Linked DNA regions of Homo sapiens: regions 1 and 2 are each linked to region 3. Evidence: promoter capture Hi-C in 16 types of primary human blood cells and fetal thymus (Javierre and others, 2016). All regions are on one chromosome and are shown on one strand. Each heading gives the region's core, a stretch centred on a gene start or on the middle of the fragment in contact. The rest is flanking DNA. Distances are from core to core; before and after follow the strand shown.

Region 1 (2,836 bases), core at 58-2,557, 4.4 Mb after region 3:
AAACAAAACAACAACAACACTGGACTAGGTGGAAGGCATATAGAATGCTAGCCCCAACACTGAGAAGTCAAGCATGTTCTCCATAATTAACTGTCCCAGAAGAGCAGTTTAGAAATGTGTTTAAGTATAGTCCCAAAGGGAAAGCTTACTTTGCAACTAAAAATAAAGGCCTAACTACTCCAGGAGGTCAACAATCCAGCCATATCTCTCAGGGTTTGCAGCTGTTTTCTGGAATGCCTGAAATAGGAACAAACTTAACACCACTGCGTTGATACGAGCCACACACCAAAATGAGACTGCTAGGATCTCTACTTGAAAACTTGAGTAAACGAGCTAGTCATTGAGGGCAGGGCCGTAAGGGAGATTTCATCTCGTGCTCTTTGGTCACTTTCGCACACCGCCAAGCAAATAAGAGCAAAGACACCTTTCTTAAAACACTTACCAACCTGCTCTCCTCAACTGTGCCCTGCAAGCTGTGGCATCTCCTGCCACCCTGCCTCTAGTTTCCCAGACTGCAATTTCCCCAGCCCCGTTTTCCTACACACGTTTCCACACCCTCTCACGATCTTTTACTCTCTTCTCCCTTCCGGTCGTTCCAGCGGGTCCCACCTCCCTCTTCTTCCCACCCTCAAAGAACTGACCACCTCTGATACCCCTCAGCGCGGGACACTCATCACCCCAGCATCCTACGCGCCTTCCCCTCCATAACTAGTCCCAGGACCCAGTCTTTCCCACGCTCTGTTCTCAAGACCCACCTTACCCTCCCTCCCTAGACCTTCGCATCCTTCCATCCAGGAAGCCCCCACACCACGCCCCACGCCCCCTCCTCTGCAAGGCCCTAAGCTCTGCTCTCCACCCCCATTTAGAGTTTTGCCTCCTGCACTTCGTTCAGCCCCATCAACGCCATGGACTGCACCTGCCGCTGATTTTCAAGTTACGTTCTACGGCCTTCTCACCTGGCCGGCTTTCCTAAACGATCCGCGGGGCTCCCTCAGCCATCCGTTCAGCGGCGCACCCAACCCTGGCAGGAGCCGGGTCCGCCTCCCGGACCGCTCCCCCGTTGGCTGGCTCCAGGCCAATAGGACGCTTCTGGAGAGCGATAGGGTCTCGGAACTGTCTGTCAAATCCGGAGGCGTAAACCGGGCCGCGATTCAAGTTTTTAATTGGTCATTACAGCTATCACTTAGCAGTCTAGAGGCAGGTCTGTATGCTCCCGCCGAGCTGTCATAGGCCGGCGCGTAGGAGTCAAGAGCGCGGAAAGAACGTGCCCCAAGCAGTTTGGTTGAGGGCCGAGGAGTGACGTGTCGGTTTGCGGACCCACGGGGAGTCGCAGTGGGAAGGCGCGGCCCACTGACTCCCGTCATGTGACAAGAAGCGGAAACTACGCTGAAATAGGCCCTTGCTCCAAGTCCCAGTAACTCGGAATGCGGAGCCGCTCGTCTCCCGTCTTTTTTAAGGTAGAAATTGTTACCTAATACAAGGTGAAAGGAGAGGAGGGAAGCATTTTCTACCTATTTATTCTCAATTAAAACTCAAACGCGGACTGGTCCAGACAGTTCGTCTTTTGCAGGATGTGCCTGATAGTTGACTCGAGCTTTTACTGTGCCTTGGTAACTGCGATGGACCTGGGAACCTTGACAGAGTTCACAGCCCCTGGTTTTGTGAAAGAGCGTGCCTAGGCCTAAAGGGGTTGTCGGGGCTAAGCTGGAAGCATTTCTACTGCCAGCTGAGACAGCCACCGCCGCGGAGGCACAGCCCTCCCCAGCAGCAAGCGGGCTTCCTCGGGAGACCGGGAGGCAGCCCGGCCATGCTTAGTCAGTTCAGCCCTTTGTTAAAATACCGGCCAGAGAGCCGCTCTCCCTATCCTAACTTGCCTCTCTTCTCTCGCACCCCACGCGCTCCCCGACCCCCAATAAGTTTGCTGAGGGCAGAGAAGGGGACGAAGTTTGAGCAGCAATTCCATCATCTCAGACTCGCACGTGTACACCTTTATCCTCAGGCACTTCCACTCCCTGCGCGCCTCGGTGAGCCAAGGCTACACCAGAGAGAGTGGGAACGTCTCGCAGCTCTTCGAACTTGTTGCCTCTACCACTCACGCAGTTTCCTATTCTCCCATGAACGGAACCCACCACTTATTGAAAGGTCATTATTTAAATCACTGCTTCAGAATCACATGCATTTTTTTCAAAATCCACATGACCAGGCTCGCCCCAGGACGTTATGATTCAATAGATCTGCTTTTTTTTGGTTTTGTTTTTAGTAGTAAGTGTTCGATGTAATTTTACTTTAACAAAAGGAAACTGAAGCTGAGCCTGAAGGAATTACAGAACTTGGAGTAAATGCTTCTTCAAAATACGAGTTTTGGTCGGGCGCGGTGGCTCACCCCTGTAATCCCAGCACTTTGGGAGGCCAAGGCGGGCGGATCACGAGGTCAGGAGGTAGAGACCATCCTGGCCAACATGGTGAAACCCGTCTCTACTAAAAATAGAAAAATTAGCTGGGCGTGGTGGCGCGTGCCTGTAATCCCAGCTACTCGGGAGGCTGACACAGAATCACTTGAACCAGGGAGTCGGAGGTTGCAGTGAGCCGAGATCGTGCCACTGCACTCCAGCCTGGCGACAGAGCTGGACTCCGTCTCAAAAAGAAGTTTTTTCTCTTTAAAAATAAAAAAGCGGGGAGGGGGGCATTAAAATTAGAAAGATTGTGTTCAAGTTTCTTTTGTTTTTTTTTAAGTATTAACCTAAGAATATTAAGGCCGGTCGCGGTGGCTCACGCCTGTAATCCCAGCACTTTGGGAGGCCGAGGCGGGTGAATCACCTGAGGTCAGGAGTTTGAG
Region 2 (3,160 bases), core at 29-2,528, 4.1 Mb after region 3:
TTCCACCACCGGCGCGAGGCGGTGCTGGCCCCATCCGCTGGCCAATGGGCTTCCTTAGGGGGCAGGCGTCCGCGTCCGCGCCCGCGACCACCGCGGTGCGGCGCGCAGGCGCTGGAAGGCTGGGTGGCGCGCGGAAGGGGCGGAGGGCAGAGAGCGGGGCGGGGGGCAGAGAGCGGGGCGGAGGGCAGAGAGCGGGGCGGAGGGCAGAGAGCGGGGCGAAAGGGCGCGGACCGGAGGGCAGAGGGGGCAGCTTCCGCAGAGTGGAGAGCGCCCCCCGCGCCGCCCCGCGGCCCGCCGCTCACACAGCCCTCCAGGCGGGAGCCCCCCGGACTCCCCGCCGCGCTTTACGCCCCGTGTCGGTTTCCCTGGAAATTTCCGCCTCCACATCACAAGATGTCAGAAAGGTTAGCGAATTGGTTAGCAAAGTGGAGACAAAATCTGATGAATTTGATATGACGAATGACCTCGAATGCCACAGTTGCGGAAAGGAAGCAGAACTGTTCAAGCTCTAACTGCTGTTCCTGCCCTAGATACCTGTGATGTTCCACATAGGCTTTTTAAAGCTTTTATTCTGAAATGTGGTCTCTTGTTAAAAACATTACCTTTCGGTATAACCTCTACGTCCTACATGCGTTTGCATAATCCGGTATAGATCCCTGGATCCCTGGTACTAATGATTTAATGACCGCTCAATTTGGACGAAAGAACCAAATTCCACCTCCCCCCCGCCCCCCAGTTTTCTAATTGTAATTTTGAGATTTTGATCAGCATTTCTGGAATTGGGGGCAAAAATACAAAAACCCACACGAAACTGCAGTCATGATCTCTCCGTGGTGCTGAAGCAACGCTCCCCGCTCTGTTCGGTCACTCTCAGGGCACCTAGTCGTTTGTTTTGAGATTATCATATTCATTTCAGCTTTTAATTTGAATTCTAATAGTAAATGTTTTTGTCTCTCAATGGTAACTTTCTTCTCATTTAACTAGGTATAAAATCGAGCCAAGATCTTCAATCTTTTAGTTTTCGTATAAGGATAGCAGAATTTGAAAAATTACCTTTTTTCTATTATTTTAGCGTAGCACTACAATTCCTCCTTTTATTGCTGTCCCGCCACAGGCCCAGATTCTGCCCTGTGGGCGGAGAAACGGTAGCTGGACTAGAAAACCTCAGGTAGATTCTAGCACCAAGCTCGGTTCTCAGAACTACATTTCCCACAAACTTGGACTACACCTCCCATGAGGGCTCGGGCGCCTGCGCAGAAGACGCACAGTGACAGCTTCCTTTCTCGGAAACGCGGCGCGGCCGGCTGCCGGAAAGTAAGTGTGGGATTTTTGGAGTGGGTTACTTTCTGGGTTCCACAGGGGAAGGGACAAATGGACACACTGCTGAACGGTTGTCTGTTGTCTTCTTTTTGCCCTCTTTCACATACTTTGGTCTTTTCAGGAAAGCATTGCCGTATGGAAATGAGACCTCGCTTAAGACCATGTATTTTTCTTTTGTGCCTGGTACTTTCTGGAGCTCTCGGTGGAAACTCGCCGCAGTAGGGTCGTCTTTAATTCCGTTGTGACGGGAGCTTCAGTGGTACTTGTACTGTGGAGTACAAAAGTGCTCTGCTGCCCCACTTAGAATTGGGTGCTCATAAAACAGTAGAAGTTGAGAACCCAGGAGTATGTGGGAGGCTGTGGCAGCAATTTTCAAATTATTTTGGGGATTGCCTTACATACAGACCACGATTGCTTTCTAGTGATCATAGTGCGTGTCTGCTAATCCTTTGGACAGTACTCCCTCTTCTTCCCTTTGGATTAATATAAAGTTTATCAAGAGGAATGCTATTTATGTGTTAACCCACTGGTTCCTGAGATTAGGACTTTTTTTTTTTTTTTTTTAAGACTGTCGCCCAGGCTGAGTGAAGTGGCGTGATCACTGCTCACTGCAGCCTCTACCTCCTGGGCTCAAGCGATCCTTCCACCTCAGCCTCCAACTAGCTGGGACTGCAGGCGTGCGCCATCTTGGCAGCCTAGTTTTTAATTTTTTAATTAACACACGGTCTCGCTGTGTTGCCCAGGTTGGTCTCGAACTCCTGACTTCGAGCGACCCCCCCTCCCCCCCGCCACCACCCCGTCTTGGCCTCTCAAAATGTTGGGATGACAGGCGTGAGCCACGGCGCCTGGCCCAATGTATGGAACATCTGGTGATGGCCGTTTTAGTTTGTAATTGGTGCTTAGGGGACACACGAATTCCCTCTCTGTGGTTACTTCGCAGCCCTGGCCAGGGTGTTACTTTAAACGTCTGCTTGGGAACTCCTGCACTTCACCCTGAATTAGGGTAAGGTGTGCTGGAAAAAGCACTGTAGTGTACCAAGTCCTGTTTTTGCCACAAATCTGCCTTATGACCAACTAGACTCACTCCCTGGCCTAGTTCTTTAGTTAGCACGGGAGTTGAACTTTGGAGACTTTGGTAATGTTGGACTTTGAGATCCAAATAATCACTGGAGTGTTTTGCATGTTAAAATCACCATGTAATTTTTGACCTCATAAAAAGTCGAGGTATAAATACAAATTACCTTTAATCCCACTACTCGTTAGGTTTTGATCTTTCCCTGTGTGTACTGAGATCATCCTGTATAGTTTATGATACATTCATGTCACTTAATTTCACCTTCCCATATTACTTTCCCAAGATTCCCAATGACTATTTAATATTCTAATGTCTTTAAAGACATTTACTATTCCACTGTTGGTGGACAGTTTGCAGTTTCTACTTTTTTGCGGTGAGTATATCCTACATGTACCTGAGTCATTGATTACTTCTTTTCCAGACAAATGCCTAACAAATAGAACTGGGTGAATGTGTGAATTATGTGGCTTTAAATGTTACAGGGAAAATGATTTTCGCAGATAGTAACGGTCAAGGTCATTCACCTTTATGTTAGAACTTTTTCTCTGTGAACAAGCAAACTGTACTATCATTCTTCTGGCCTCTGGTGTTAAAACTGACAACTTTCAGATTTTAGATGGTCCCCGTTGGGTCAGAAATATCAAGAACAGATAAATTACAATTTAAGGTGAGCAGAATTCCTATTTTGATCTGCACCCAAACAGGCTAGGTTCATATTGGTATTTATGTTTGCATCTGATTCCAGATGTTACTAGTTTGAATTTC
Region 3 (3,041 bases), core at 457-2,956:
CGAACGCCTGTGCTCAAGCGATCCACCCGCCTCGGCCTCCCAAAATTCTGGGATTACAGGCGTGAGCCACCGCACCCTGTCACGAAGTTTAAAAAAAAAAAAAAGCTCTCTTTTCTTTCCACGTTGTTTCCAGCTATTTAAAGAAACAAAATGGTAGACTAGACGCAGTGGCTCACATCTGTAATCCCAGCAATTTGGAAGGCCAAGGCGGGAGAATCACTTGACGTTAGAGTTTGAGACCAGCCTGGCCAACATGGGGAAACCCCATCTCTACTGAAAATACAAAAATTAGCCGGGCGTGGTGGTGCATGCCTGTAATCTCAGCTACTAGAGAGGCTGAGGCAGGAGAATCGCTTGAACCCGGGAGGCAGAGGTTGCAATGAGCCCAGATCTCACCACTGCACTCCAGCCTGGGCAACAGAGCGAGACTCCGTATCAAAAAACAAAACAACAAAACAAAACAAAAAACAGTAAAGAGAATACTATTGAGTTAATTTTACAGTTTTTCACGCTGTGGGTGTTTTCTATTCTCGTCTTTTGCTTAGCTGTCCTGTCTCCCTCTTTTTCTCAGGCAATAGTTTAGGATTTTTGTAAGTTATATTGTCAGTACTTCTCATTTAAGTTCCAGACAGTGTGCTAAGCAAAGCACTTTACTCGGTAAAGTAAGAGCTCACTTAATCTTCAAAATAACGTAGCAAGGTAGATATCACGAACATAGCAAGGTAGATATCACCGAAGGGAAAACCGCTCCCCGAAGGTCCGAAGGTCCAAGGTCTCTCTGCCATCTAGCTGCCCTGCGTATTGCCTGCCAGTGGGTAGTTGGAGCTGGGTATCTCTCCAAAGCTGGGCTCTTGGCTGCCCTTTGTGAAGGCAATTTTAAGGGACAGCAGGATGTGGAAGCCTGCGGTTAAGGAGTGAGCTGAGTCACTGGGTAACCAGTGTTGAATAATGTTTCTCAATGTCTGAAATGACACTCACTTCCTTTCCAGATTGGTAGAGGAGAAAAAAGAGGCGCAGTGAAAGCGCTCTCAAGGTGCGGTGGGTCAGGGTGATAGGCGGCGCCCGGCCGCTCCCTGGGGGTCCTGAGGGCGAGACCCCGGCAGGCTCCCGACTCCGGGAGCCGGGCGGGAGTTCGGTTTTCGCCGGCGCTCCACGGCCAGGCCACTTCGGAGGCAATCTGTGGCGGGGCGGGCGGACGCGAGGGCCGCCTCACCCCCGCGCGTCTTCCGGGACACCGGGCCCTCGGGCGCGCGGGAGGCGGGCTTAGCACGGGCGCAGGCTGCCCTCGGCGCCCGAGACACCCAGGCACAGCTGGAAGCTTCCTCCCCGTTAGCACGCGGGCCGCAGCGGGGGCTTGACCCCAATGCGAAGAGTCGGGTTTTCTGATTGGCTGAGAGTAGAAACGCAGGCGAGCGCCGCCTGAGACCCGCTCTGCGATTGGGTTTTACACGAACAGCAGAGCACGAAATAAAGAGGCCTTCAGTCATTGGGCCATTATGTGAATCTCCTTTTGGCTTCTCTGCAGACTGAATAAGCGTCTCAGGATCTTCGTCATGACTCCTAAATCTGGGCCTGTCAGTTCGCCCCAGCGTTTCTCGTCTCTAGGCACGGCATGGGGCTTACAGAGTTTAACCAATCATATAACGTCGAGATCAGGTTGCCAGGCAGATTATGCTAATAAGACCCCGCCTTTTATGCTGCTCCCACTCTGCGGCGGGAAGAACCACCTGGAGGTGGCGGGGGGGGTTGATTTCTATCACCCCTAGGGAGAGAGGATCGGGGACCCGCTGATCTTCCAGCTCCCCTCACCCAACGTCGTGTAAGTACCTAAAGGATTAAGGGAACCAGATAAGCCAGGGTCCAGACTACCCCATAGACTGGGAGGGTGTTTCGTCTTTGCTTAGTCCCACCCAAAATGGCGCCCAGCTCTTTCCGCGTCTCAGAGCCCGGCCGGGGCCAACCGACCGCGGACCCGGGTGGGGGGGGAATTGATGGTGGTGGTGGGGGGGAGAAATCCCGGCGGCACCGCCCGATGGTACAGTCCAGCCGGGGCTGGGACGAGGCACCTCACTCGGGGTGGGGGGTCAAACCATCTGCACCTTCCAAGGGGAAGAGGGCAAGGCCCCCTCCAGCAGGCCCTCCTGGCGCCGCGTTCAGCGCCGGCCTCGGCGTCTCGTCGCCCCTGCCTTCGCCGCGCGCAGCCTCCCCCTGCGACCCCCGAGTGGCTCGCACGCTCCGCCGGCCGCGCGCACCTCTCCTCCCCTGCCCGCGTTGGTTGGGCCGGGACGGCGGTTGGGCGGCCTGCGCGCTCCGGCGGCGGCGGTTGCGCGGGCGCTCCGGGCGCGGCGGGCAGGTCTCCGCCGGCCGGGAGCCGAGCACCGGGGGCTGGGGGCCGGGCGCCGGGCTGGGGGTGGCAGTGCGGGCAGGGCTCCGGGGCTGGCCGGTTGCGGGCGCGTGGGGCGGAGGGTCCTGTTCGATGGGGCGCCCAGCTTTGTCTGCGGAGGCCGCGCCGCCCACTTGCCATCGATGGCTGGGCCCCCGGCCTGCCTTCCCAAGCTAGCGTCCGGGACCGGGGCGGGGGGCCGGCCCGCAGGGGTGTGGGGTGGCCCCTGCGGGTCTGTCCCGTGGCACCGCGTCGGGGCTGGCCGGGCGGAGGCGGAGGCCGAGGCCGGGGTCGCGGCCCTGCCCCAGTCCGCCTGCACCCAGGGTGCAGCGCAGAGGCAGGGCGAGGCCGGTCGGCGCTCGGGAGAGGGCTGATGGTGTGCACCTCTCCAGCCCCTCGCCAGCTTTTGTTAAGCAGGTTTAACCCTGCAGCTAGGTGTTGATACTCTACTAAGTAAAATGGAATATTCCCCGTCTGCCCTCCAGCCACGCGAACGCAGCGCTGTTGAATTTGTGTGCGCGCCTTTAGCCTTGCTTGGTGGATGAGTTGGATTTTAGTGCATTTTCAATCAATGTGCGTGTACACTTAAGCACAAGGAGAGGTGGCTTTGTGCTGTCATCGAGGATTAGATGTGTGATGAGACCCACCCAGCTCTGCC

What was found. The method cuts DNA at HindIII sites, captures the fragments that hold promoters and counts their contacts. A CHiCAGO score of 5 or more calls a contact.
Region 1: a contact is called between the fragment with the promoter of STT3A-AS1 here and the fragment with the promoter of PRDM10 in region 3, in 1 of 17 cell types (naive CD8 T cells). The highest score is 8.0, in naive CD8 T cells.
Region 2: a contact is called between the fragment with the promoter of PUS3 here and the fragment with the promoter of PRDM10 in region 3, in 1 of 17 cell types (naive CD8 T cells). The highest score is 5.5, in naive CD8 T cells.

What each region holds. Positions count from the first base shown.
Region 1 is chr11:125,591,039-125,593,874 of GRCh38, reverse strand. STT3A-AS1 (STT3A antisense RNA 1) reads left to right here and starts at 1,307. Exons shown (of 4, transcript NR_132372.1): 1 at 1,307-1,457. It overlaps STT3A (STT3 oligosaccharyltransferase complex catalytic subunit A), which reads right to left and starts at 1,023. Exons shown (of 18, transcript NM_152713.5): 1 at 957-1,023. RefSeq lists enhancers at 1,157-1,751, 1,869-2,038. The HindIII fragment of the contact is 3,144 bases long and covers 147-2,836 here.
Region 2 is chr11:125,901,324-125,904,483 of GRCh38, reverse strand. It overlaps PUS3 (pseudouridine synthase 3), which reads left to right and starts at 1,278. Exons shown (of 4, transcript NM_031307.4): 1 at 1,278-1,314. It also overlaps a transcript of DDX25 not described here. The HindIII fragment of the contact is 3,679 bases long and covers 566-3,160 here.
Region 3 is chr11:130,001,500-130,004,540 of GRCh38, reverse strand. PRDM10 (PR/SET domain 10) reads left to right here and starts at 1,706. Exons shown (of 21, transcript NM_199437.2): 1 at 1,706-1,819. It overlaps PRDM10-DT (PRDM10 divergent transcript), which reads right to left and starts at 1,917. Exons shown (of 1, transcript NR_024233.1): 1 at 1-1,917. RefSeq lists silencers at 983-1,372, 2,083-2,402, 2,413-2,462, 2,493-2,672 and an enhancer at 1,483-1,572. The HindIII fragment of the contact is 10,759 bases long and covers 1,321-3,041 here.